Linked DNA regions of Homo sapiens: region 1 is linked to region 2. Evidence: promoter capture Hi-C in 16 types of primary human blood cells and fetal thymus (Javierre and others, 2016). All regions are on one chromosome and are shown on one strand. The core of a region is centred on a gene start or on the middle of the fragment in contact, and the rest is flanking DNA. Distances in the headings are between cores, read along the strand shown. Region 1 overlaps MROH9 (maestro heat like repeat family member 9). Region 2 holds the start of FMO4 (flavin containing dimethylaniline monoxygenase 4).

Region 1 (4,950 bases), core at 571-3,070, 340 kb before region 2:
ATAATCAGAGAGGACATTTGAGGCAAAACCTGTAATATAAGATGACTGTAAGGCCAATCCCCTGTAAGTGGTGCTCAGCTTCAGTGAGGTAAGCTGTGAGAAGTACTACTCTTCTCTCATACCCAGTAGAGAGAGAAAACTTGATCCTTTTTCTCATGCCCATACACAATGATGGTTTTAAGATCTTGCCATCGAGTGGGAAAAAAAAAAAACTTGGAATGCAAACCCAAAGAAAAGGACATTCAGGCAAAGAGAGCATTTCCCCCTAGGGCCTAGAGCAGAGGCTGTCTGCTCCCAGATTCTCCAAAGCCACAGAGCTCCTATAAGGGGAAGGACCAGGCCACTCTTTGTACGGGTGGAAAAGAATGCAAGGAGAATATCCATGGAAAAAAAGAGATTTATAATCTCTCTTCTCCTACTGAGATCATCACTCCCCACATCACAATTCAATTATGGCCTTCGCCCATGACCTAGATGACCCAGGTCACTTCATATTTCTTCCTTAGGAATTTCTGTGTGTGTGTGTGTGTGTGTGTGTGTGTGAGAGAGAGAGAGAGAGAGAGAGAGAGAGAGAGAGAGACAGAGTGGGCAGGGAGTGGTGAGTTAAGCCACATAAAGGGCAGGGAAAATGGGGCATGAAAAAGGTCAACAGAAGCAGAAGCAGGCCTTGGGATCCCCCTAGAGTTTACCATCAACAATTGCTCCAATCATCAAAGCCTCTACCTAGGAAAAGTACTCACTTGTCTTGGAGGCAAGAACTATCTGCAAGTCATGCTGCTAGTTTGCCAAATCTACATTTAATCAGAGCCCTTCTTTGTCTAAAAAAAGACATGCAAAATTGGTAAAGGCCCTCATACTTTCATAAAAGCAAATGCCTTTTCTACCTTTCCTCTTTTCTCTCTCTACTCCCTTCTCTGTTTGGATATTATCTAGCCAGAGAGGTCCATTAAGGTGAAAATCTAAATATTTGATCAGTCTAAGGGTTGAAGAAGTTGTAGAAAGAAATACAGAAATATTTTGGTAGTAGCTTTGACATCAAAAGCAAATGATCTGCATTTTAAAAAAATGAATTCCCTTGAGAGGAGTCAGAATAACTTCCAGAGGAAAAGTGGCATGCCTCCTCAGTGACTTGTAGAAACATCTAGTGTTTCGTATGTGAAGAAGGAAGTACTAAAGGTTTTGGAAATACACAGCCCACCTTACTTTTCTATGTCCTGGGAATTTGCTACCTGCAAGTGACTACCCACTTCATGGCATAGAAACTAACATTAGTTGAGTCACCATTATGTCCAAGTACTTTCCTAGGAATTTTTCTTCTTGTCATCAGTGTTACCCCTTACTCTCCACAATAACTGTTACAAAGTGGAATTTATTGTCTTCATTTCACAGATGAGGAAATTGAGAGTCAGTAACGGGGCCAGGATTTGATTACAGATATTGTAAACTCTGAAGCTTATCTTAGAATCCTAGTCTGATTTATAACAGGATCAGATGCATGCAGACATTTTCATATTGGCTATGCATAGCAAATGCATGTTCTCCTTTGTTTCTCCATTAGATAAGTGTTGATGCTCCATGTTTGGGTCTCCTGGCAGCAGAGCTGTCTCTTTTGTGTTCCCATGAAGATCCCTCGATTGTAAAACAAGCATCATTGGGAATGTGTCACCTCCTCTACATTGCACGGTGTCAGAACGGTAAGAACAGTTCACCATCTTTTCTCAGGATTACTAAGAATATGTCCCTCGTTATTCAACTTATAGGTCCTGGGAAGGCTCTACGTCTGTTAATTTCTAAATCCTGCCCCAAGAGTCATGGCTATACTTTCTAAAATGTGTCTTTTAATCTTTTTAGCATTGTCAAGAAATTTTGGTAATAGTGTGGTTGGTTCTTCAAGATTTATAAAGTACTGTGCTTAGATTACTTGAGGGTTAATGGTAGGGAGAGGAATGCTGGGTGGATCCAGGGAGGACAGAGAAGGAGAGAGTTTACCAATGGGACTTTAAAAATGCGGTATTTTTTTCTGTCTAATTGAGTATCTGATAGACTACTCAGAAGATTCTTGCTTCAATGGTGGAGAAAAATAAGACTAGGATTAAAATAAATGTTGCTGTGGCTTGTCTAACAAAGCATAAAAGCAAGACCTGAAAGTATTAAGCTATTTCCAAGTAATTTAATTGCATTTTAGAACAAAGCTTAAGAATATTTGTATATTTGTAAGGGGTGGAGCCTCTGTCTATGGAGGCTATGCCTCTGTTTCTGTCCAGGATGTAATAACAGAGAACACATTTACTCTATTTACACTCCTATAGTAAGCAACCTTAAAAATATACATAGTTTTTGGCAAGGCACAGTGGCTCACGCCTATAATCCCAGCACTTTGGGAGGCTGAGGTGGGCGGATCACAAGGTCAGGAGATCGAGACCATCCTGGCTAACACAGTGAAACCCCCTCTCTACTAAAAAATACAAAAAAATAAGCCGGGTGTGGTGGCAGGCACCTGTAATCCCAGCTACTCAGGAGGCTGAGGTAGGAGAATGGCGTGAACCCAGGAGGCAGAGCTTACAGTGAGCCGAGATCATGCCACTGCACTCCAGCGTGGGTGACAGAGCAAGACTCCGCCTCAAAAAAAAAAAAAAAAATACACACACACACACACACACACACACACACAGAGTTTTCAATTCATTGCACATTAAATAATAAAGGACAATGACTCTTGAAAGATGAGGAGGTGAGAACGAATGAGGTGGGGTTTGTAATTGCCTGAGCTTACCACCTAGAGTACATTTCTAAGAGCCAACACAAAAAGAGATAAGCCAGTGGTCTCATCAAGTTAAAAAGACAGAAATGGGAGTCCAGAGAGGTCAATAGCTAGGGTTGAAAGGCCAGGGTACCAGAACGGAGTACATGAGTGCATGCACACGCATACACACACACACACACGCACGCACAAACCCACAAACTCGAGATCTGCAGAGATCTAAAGAGAGCCCCCTTTAAGTATTTAGCTGAGTACTAATGAGAACATGCATGCAAGTAAACTGCCTGAGTTTGAAGGGTAGGAAACAACAAAAATGATTAGAGAAAAAGATTCAGTGCTCAACAAAGGCTAGTGATAATGCCTGTGCCTGTAAGCCAGAATTTAAAACCTTATAATTCACAAGTACCGAGGTACAGTACTCAGACGGGTTTTGTCTCATTAGGAGAAAAAAAATCATCCTAAACTGTTTTAGTGCTACTTAAAAAGGCCTTAAAACAAGATCTAAAAGTATCACTATCTCCAAATATTTTAATTACCTACCAAAACAAAGCTGAAGAATACCCCTAGAAATAAAAAAAAAAGTTCCTGCACTCAACAAGTTAAAATTAACAATGTCTGAAATCCAATTTAAAAAAAATTATTAGGTTGGGCACGGTGGCTCATGCCTGTAATCCCAGCACTTTTGGAGGCCGAGGCGGGCAGATCACCTGAGGTCAAGAGTTCGTGATTAGCCTGGCTAAAATGGTGAATCCCCGTCTCTACTAAAAATACAAAATTAGCTGAGCATGGTGGTGCGTGCCTGTAATCGCAGCTACTCAGGAGGCTGAGACAGGAGAATTGCTTGAACCTGGGAGGCAGAGGTTGCAGTGAGCTGGTATCGTGCCACTGTACTCCAGCCTGGGCGATAGAGAAATGGCACAGATGATAGAATGAGTAGAGTGTGACATTAAAAGAATTATTATAACTACATTCCACTTATTAAAGGAATTAGAAGATAAAAACATCTTAAGTAGAGACAGAAAAACTCCTAAAAGACTTATATTGAACCTCTGGAGGTAAAAATTACAATATCTGAGAAGAAAAATTCTCTGGCATGGATTAACAAAAACTTTGCAGAAGAAAAGATTAATGAGCTTGCAGACATAGTAATAGTAATTATCAAAATTTAAACAGAGAAATAAATGACAGACAAATAGAGCATCAGTGAGCTATCAGGCATGTCTAATATGAGTCTCTGAAGAGCCTAATACATATTTTATTTGAGTCTCTGAAAGTGAGAAAGTGAGGACAGAAAAACAAATTAAAGAATAATGACTGAAAAATTTTCAAATGTAATAAAAGCTATAAACTCACACACTGAAAAGCTCAGCAGAGAACAAGAAATGTGAAGAAAAGAACATCAAGGCACATCATAATTAAATTGCTTACAACAAGTGATAAAGAAAAAAATCTTAAAAGGAGCCAAAGAGGAAAAAGGACATTACATATAGAGAAACAAAGATAAGGGTGACAGCAGATTTCTCACCAGAAATGACACAAGTTATAGGCAATGAAGGAACATCATAAAATACAGAAAAGAAAAAAAAAGTCAATCTAGAATCCTTAAACCAGTAGAAATATCTTTCAAAATAAAAAGTAAAATAAAGACATTTTAGATATACAAGAGTTGGTAGAATTAATTACCATAAGATCTTTAACTGCAAGAAATGTTAAAGAAAATTCTTTTAGAAAAGGAAATTATACCAGACGAAAATCTAGATCTACAAAAAGGAATGAAGAGCACTGGAAAACTTCAGCAATATAGATAAATATTCATTTATCTTTCTTATTTAAATCTCTTTAAATGATAATCAACTCTTTAAAGATAATAACAAAAGTAAAATATATAAAAACAACACAAAAACTTAAAGGGAAAAATGTATAAATGTGTTTTAAAATTCTTCTCCTATGCACAAAGTTATAAAATAACACTTGAAAGTAAACTAATAAGTTAAGGATGTATCATCTAAACCCTAAAGCCACCATTAAGATAATATAGCAAAAAGTTATATATATTAAGCCAAAATGGAGCTAAAATGGAATCATAGAAAATAATTTAAAATGAGGCAAAAAAGAATAGAAAAAAAGCAGATAACACAAAATAGGAAACAAATAATCAAGACAAATTTTTAACCCAATCATAATAAATG
Region 2 (4,310 bases), core at 98-2,597:
ACACTCACCACAAAGGTCCGCAGCTCCATTCTTGAAGTCAGGGAGACCAGGAACCCACCGGAAGGAACTAACTCTGGACACAATATTTTTTTTTCTTTTTTTAAATTTTTTTCTTTATTTCTTCTAAAAAAAAGTGGGATGCATGTGCAGAACGTGCAGGTTTGTTGCATAGGTACACGTGTGCCATGGTGATTTGCTGCACCTATTGACCTGTTCTCCTCTAAGTTCCCTCTCCTCACCCCCTACCCTACAACAGGCCCTACAACATTCCCCTCTCTGTGTCCATGTGTTCTCATTGTTCAACTCCCACTTATGAGTGAGAACATGCAGTGTTTGGTTTTCTGTTCCTGTGTTAGTTTGCTGAGGATGATGGCTTCCAGCTTCATCCATGTCCCTGCAAAGGACATGATCTTATTTCTTTTTATGGCTGCATAATATTCCATGATATTTTTCAAAAGAAAATATTTGCTGCCAACAGAAGATTTTATATTAAAATCTGTATTTGCAGCTTTTACTGAAAAGAACCTAAGGCCTTGCCATATTGGGCTCATTTTCTCAAATAGCAACATTTAGCTGAACTGAATAGACAGAGAAAGTACTTTCCAGTCAGATCATATCTGGCCCACTTTCCTCGTGTATGTTACCCTCCTCACTCCTGTAGGCATTTGCATGTGTAGTCACAAGCAAATGTGGTTTAGAAATTGTTCAGTGAACCATGTTGGAAAATGTCCCTAAACACAAGTCCTAAAGATGGTCTGTTATATTATCTTACAAGCACACAGTGGAAGGAAAAACAGTTAAGTTTTCTATTTCTGCCACAGCTTCTATAATTATTACCTTTCTTGTGCCCTAGGTTAATATCTAAAAATAGCTTTATGCTTTCTCAAACACATTTCACCAGCTCCCTCTGCTGATCCAATCTGAAGGACAAAACAGCTTAAATTCCTTGTAAGTCCTGAACTTTAAAATCACATTTCTGGGGTTGGAGAACTCCAAGCATGAAAGAACTTGATGAGGTAATGGTCATCTAAATAACTTTCTCCTTTGGACAGCTCCTATGGTAATCCAAGCAAGAGTCAGGGTGTAGAAGTTTGTTTCCAAAAGTAGAACTCCTGTTTCGCTGAGAAAGCTGTAATTTGGGGTGATTTGGCGCCCTCTACAGACTATAATGGCAAAAGCGACGCTATCATGTGCTTCCCATAGCTTTAGGGCTTTGCCAGAACTATGACGTTGAGGAGGGTGGGGTAAAGGGGCAGGAAGCGTTTATGTTCTGCCAATCCAACAGCTGTATTCTAACTCACCATTCCGCCCTCCCTTAAGATCACGGAAGTATCACGCTTGCCTCTTACACAACTTTTTTTCCTTAGTCTGTATACTTTCTGCTGTCACTAGCATAACAGAAAAGACGAATGGCTTTTGTTTTAAACTGAGGGCACTTTTACAAAAGTCATCTTTCCATTTATTTTTCTTTCAGAAAAAAGAATTTGGGTTTTGAGCTTTTTTAAAAAAAAAAGACAAACACTTTCCTTGACTTTGAGAAATAATTTAAGTCAAAGAATCTGCTCTATGCTAACCAAGGTAAGTGTCCTGGATTTTTTTTTTAATGGGGAAATGATCCAGAAACTGCTTTCACAAAAGATGAATGTTTTTCTTGGAGTGTGTTCCTTAAGAATGAATGTGATTATCTTCTTTTGGGGTCTCTTGACTAGGGCTAAAGCAAGAGAATTAAGGAGAGAGTCAGGAAGCAAAGGGAAGTTGTAAGGAAACAAAGTTATGTTGTGGACAGAACCATCCAAAAGGAAAGTGTCAGTGAGATAAACAGAATCATGAGACTTTCAGTGACTCCAGTGACCTCTGATTTCATCTTATGAATGAGATGGAAATGCCAGCCATTGGGAAACAAATACCCCATAGATGGCGTGGGAAAAAAATACTGTAACAAAGCAAGAGCATGGTAGGATGATGATAAGAAACATAAAATGATCAAATTTCAAATTCAAAGAAATCATAATTGATTACATGATTTGCAAATCACCCAAGTCTCTCCATGTCTCATAAAGGATTCCTACATTTGCTGGTCAGTCAGGTATAGGGTGGGGTTTTCCCGTTGTACAAAGGTCTAGTTCAATAGGTCAGGTCTCCTTTCTGCCAAGGGACTAAATATAAGCAACCTATGGCTGGCACGGTGGCTCACGCCTGTAATCCCAGCACTTTGGAAAGCCGAGGAGGGCAGACCACTTGAGATCAGGAGTTTGAGACCAGCCTGACCAACATGGTGAAACCCCGTCTCTACTAAAAATACAAAAATTATCCAGGCGTGGTGCCGCCTGCCTGTAGTCTCAGCTACTCAGGAGGCTGAGGCAGGAGAATCACTTGAACCCAGGAGGTGGAGGTTGCAGTGAGCCGAAATTGTGCCACTGCATTCCAGCCTGGAAGACAGAGTGAGACTCCAACTCAAATAAATAAATAAATAAATATAAGCACCTTTGAGCAACCAAGTACCTTATGAAGTCCACTTTATAGTTTGCAGAGTTTGCACACACGTTCTCCCAATCCTTCAAGCCTGCAGTATTCTCGCCTACCTTTGAATTCATATCTTTTTTTTTTTGTGCACCAATTACTTGGTTTTCAGACATAAGAACAGTCCTTTCAAGCTTGAAGGAAACAAAGAGAAAGCCACTTGAACCCTCTGTTTTACAAATGTGGAAGCACTGGCTCAGAGAAATTGAGAATTGTGTCCAGGGTTACAAGCTGCTTAGAGGCAGAAGCAGAACTAGAACTCAGATCTCTCAATTTCCAGTTCACTCACTACCTTCCTCTACTGACTCAAGGCAAAATTTAAAAAGGTTGCTCCCATTCAGAAATTTATAGTCTGTAAATACGGATTAATTTTAAAAGGTGCTAATTCCCAATTTGTTTCTACTGCCTGTAGAGTCTCTAAGTCAGTCCTTAAAGTGCTTTTGCCCAGCACGTTTTTAACCCCACAGGCCACTCTGTGTCACTAACTAGGTCTCTAGACAGGGATAATAAACAGGCCAGGAGAGTGCAAGCATTCATGCCTAGAGCATGCTGCTACCATAGGACTTAGCACAAGGTAGTATCAGCCTCTCCATATACAACATCTTAAGAGCAGTCACGGTCTTTTTTAAATTCTAAGACTTTACTACTATTTCTTAGTTGCAGGGTCTTCATTATCTTCAGGGCCCCATACTTAGCTTAGGACCTGCACTTAGAGGTACCCAGGGCATATTTGTTGAATGAATTAATTTGCTTCCAGTCTATTCACGTCAGTATATTTTTCACTTTGGCAATTCAGTTAGCAGTCATTTCTTTTTACCTTATGATTGCAGAGATAGAGCACAGCAAAGATCTGCCAGCCCCAGGCCTCTACCTAGTGGCCTGGAAATTCAAGTATTCTTATTGGTGGAGGCCATTTGTTTCTGATTAGAAGCTGTCTAAACCTCCTACTCCTCAACTCAAAGGAAAACACAGGTATGTCTGCCTACTCCTTTCCAAACTTGTTGATACATTTTATCTGTATGAACTGTCTTTTCCAAGGAGAAGAGAAGGAAGACAGGAGACAAGTAGGGAGGTAGAGAATGAACACTGAGTAAATATTTTGTGCAAGGCACTTTTTTGTGTAAGTAATATCAAGTTTTTTAAAATGCAAACAATCCTTCAACATAGATATTTTTATTATTTTACAAATAATATATCTAAGGTTGCTTCAGTCGGTTGCTCAGGGTCATATGGCTAGTTGGTAGCAGAGAAAGTTCAAACCCAACTCTGCTGCCTCCAAAATCCATTTTCATTGCATTCCATATAGCTCTCTCAACTAAATAGGGACTCCCAAATAAAAAGTCTAAGAGGAAAAATGATGCATTTTTTAATACATAATGAAGCCAGGTATGGCAATCTCAGCCTTACAAAGGCAAGGCAGCAAATACATTCAGAAATTGGCAGCCCTAGGAAATCCTTCTGATCCTCATTGCAAGTTCATGAATCTGCCTTAGGGTCAGGTAAGTCTAAGGGTTCCTGGAGGACTCAGGAGTCTTTCTTTACTCCCTCCAGTCAGTAAATTCTCTTAGATTTTGTGCCTGGGGCTTCTGATCTGATTAAGAGACAAGCTACAGAGCCATAGAGAAAAACTCCAAGCCCATCCCAAAGGTGCAGCAGCAAACCTGAGCAAAGATGAAGGAAGAGGCTTAGTGACGGGAACCACAGGATACCTCAGGCTCTCAGACCAACAGCATGTTCACATCTTGGTTTCAGATCCTGAAATCCATACTCAGTGCAAACTCTGCCTCTTA

Evidence for each region. Contacts are between HindIII fragments. The CHiCAGO score rates a contact against its expected background, and 5 or more counts as called.
Region 1: a fragment that was not itself captured here is called in contact with the fragment with the promoter of FMO4 in region 2 in 6 of 17 cell types (naive B cells, total B cells, naive CD4 T cells and 3 more); the score reaches 9.8 in naive B cells.

What each region holds. Positions count from the first base shown.
Region 1 is chr1:170,970,190-170,975,139 of GRCh38, forward strand. It overlaps MROH9 (maestro heat like repeat family member 9), which reads left to right. Exons shown (of 22, transcript NM_001163629.2): 8 at 1,559-1,694. Among named protein-coding and RNA genes, the nearest start is that of MROH9, 37 kb to the left of the region's middle. The HindIII fragment of the contact is 740 bases long and covers 1,451-2,190 here.
Region 2 is chr1:171,312,836-171,317,145 of GRCh38, forward strand. FMO4 (flavin containing dimethylaniline monoxygenase 4) reads left to right here and starts at 1,348. Exons shown (of 10, transcript NM_002022.3): 1 at 1,348-1,578; 2 at 3,351-3,492. The HindIII fragment of the contact is 2,730 bases long and covers 1-2,652 here.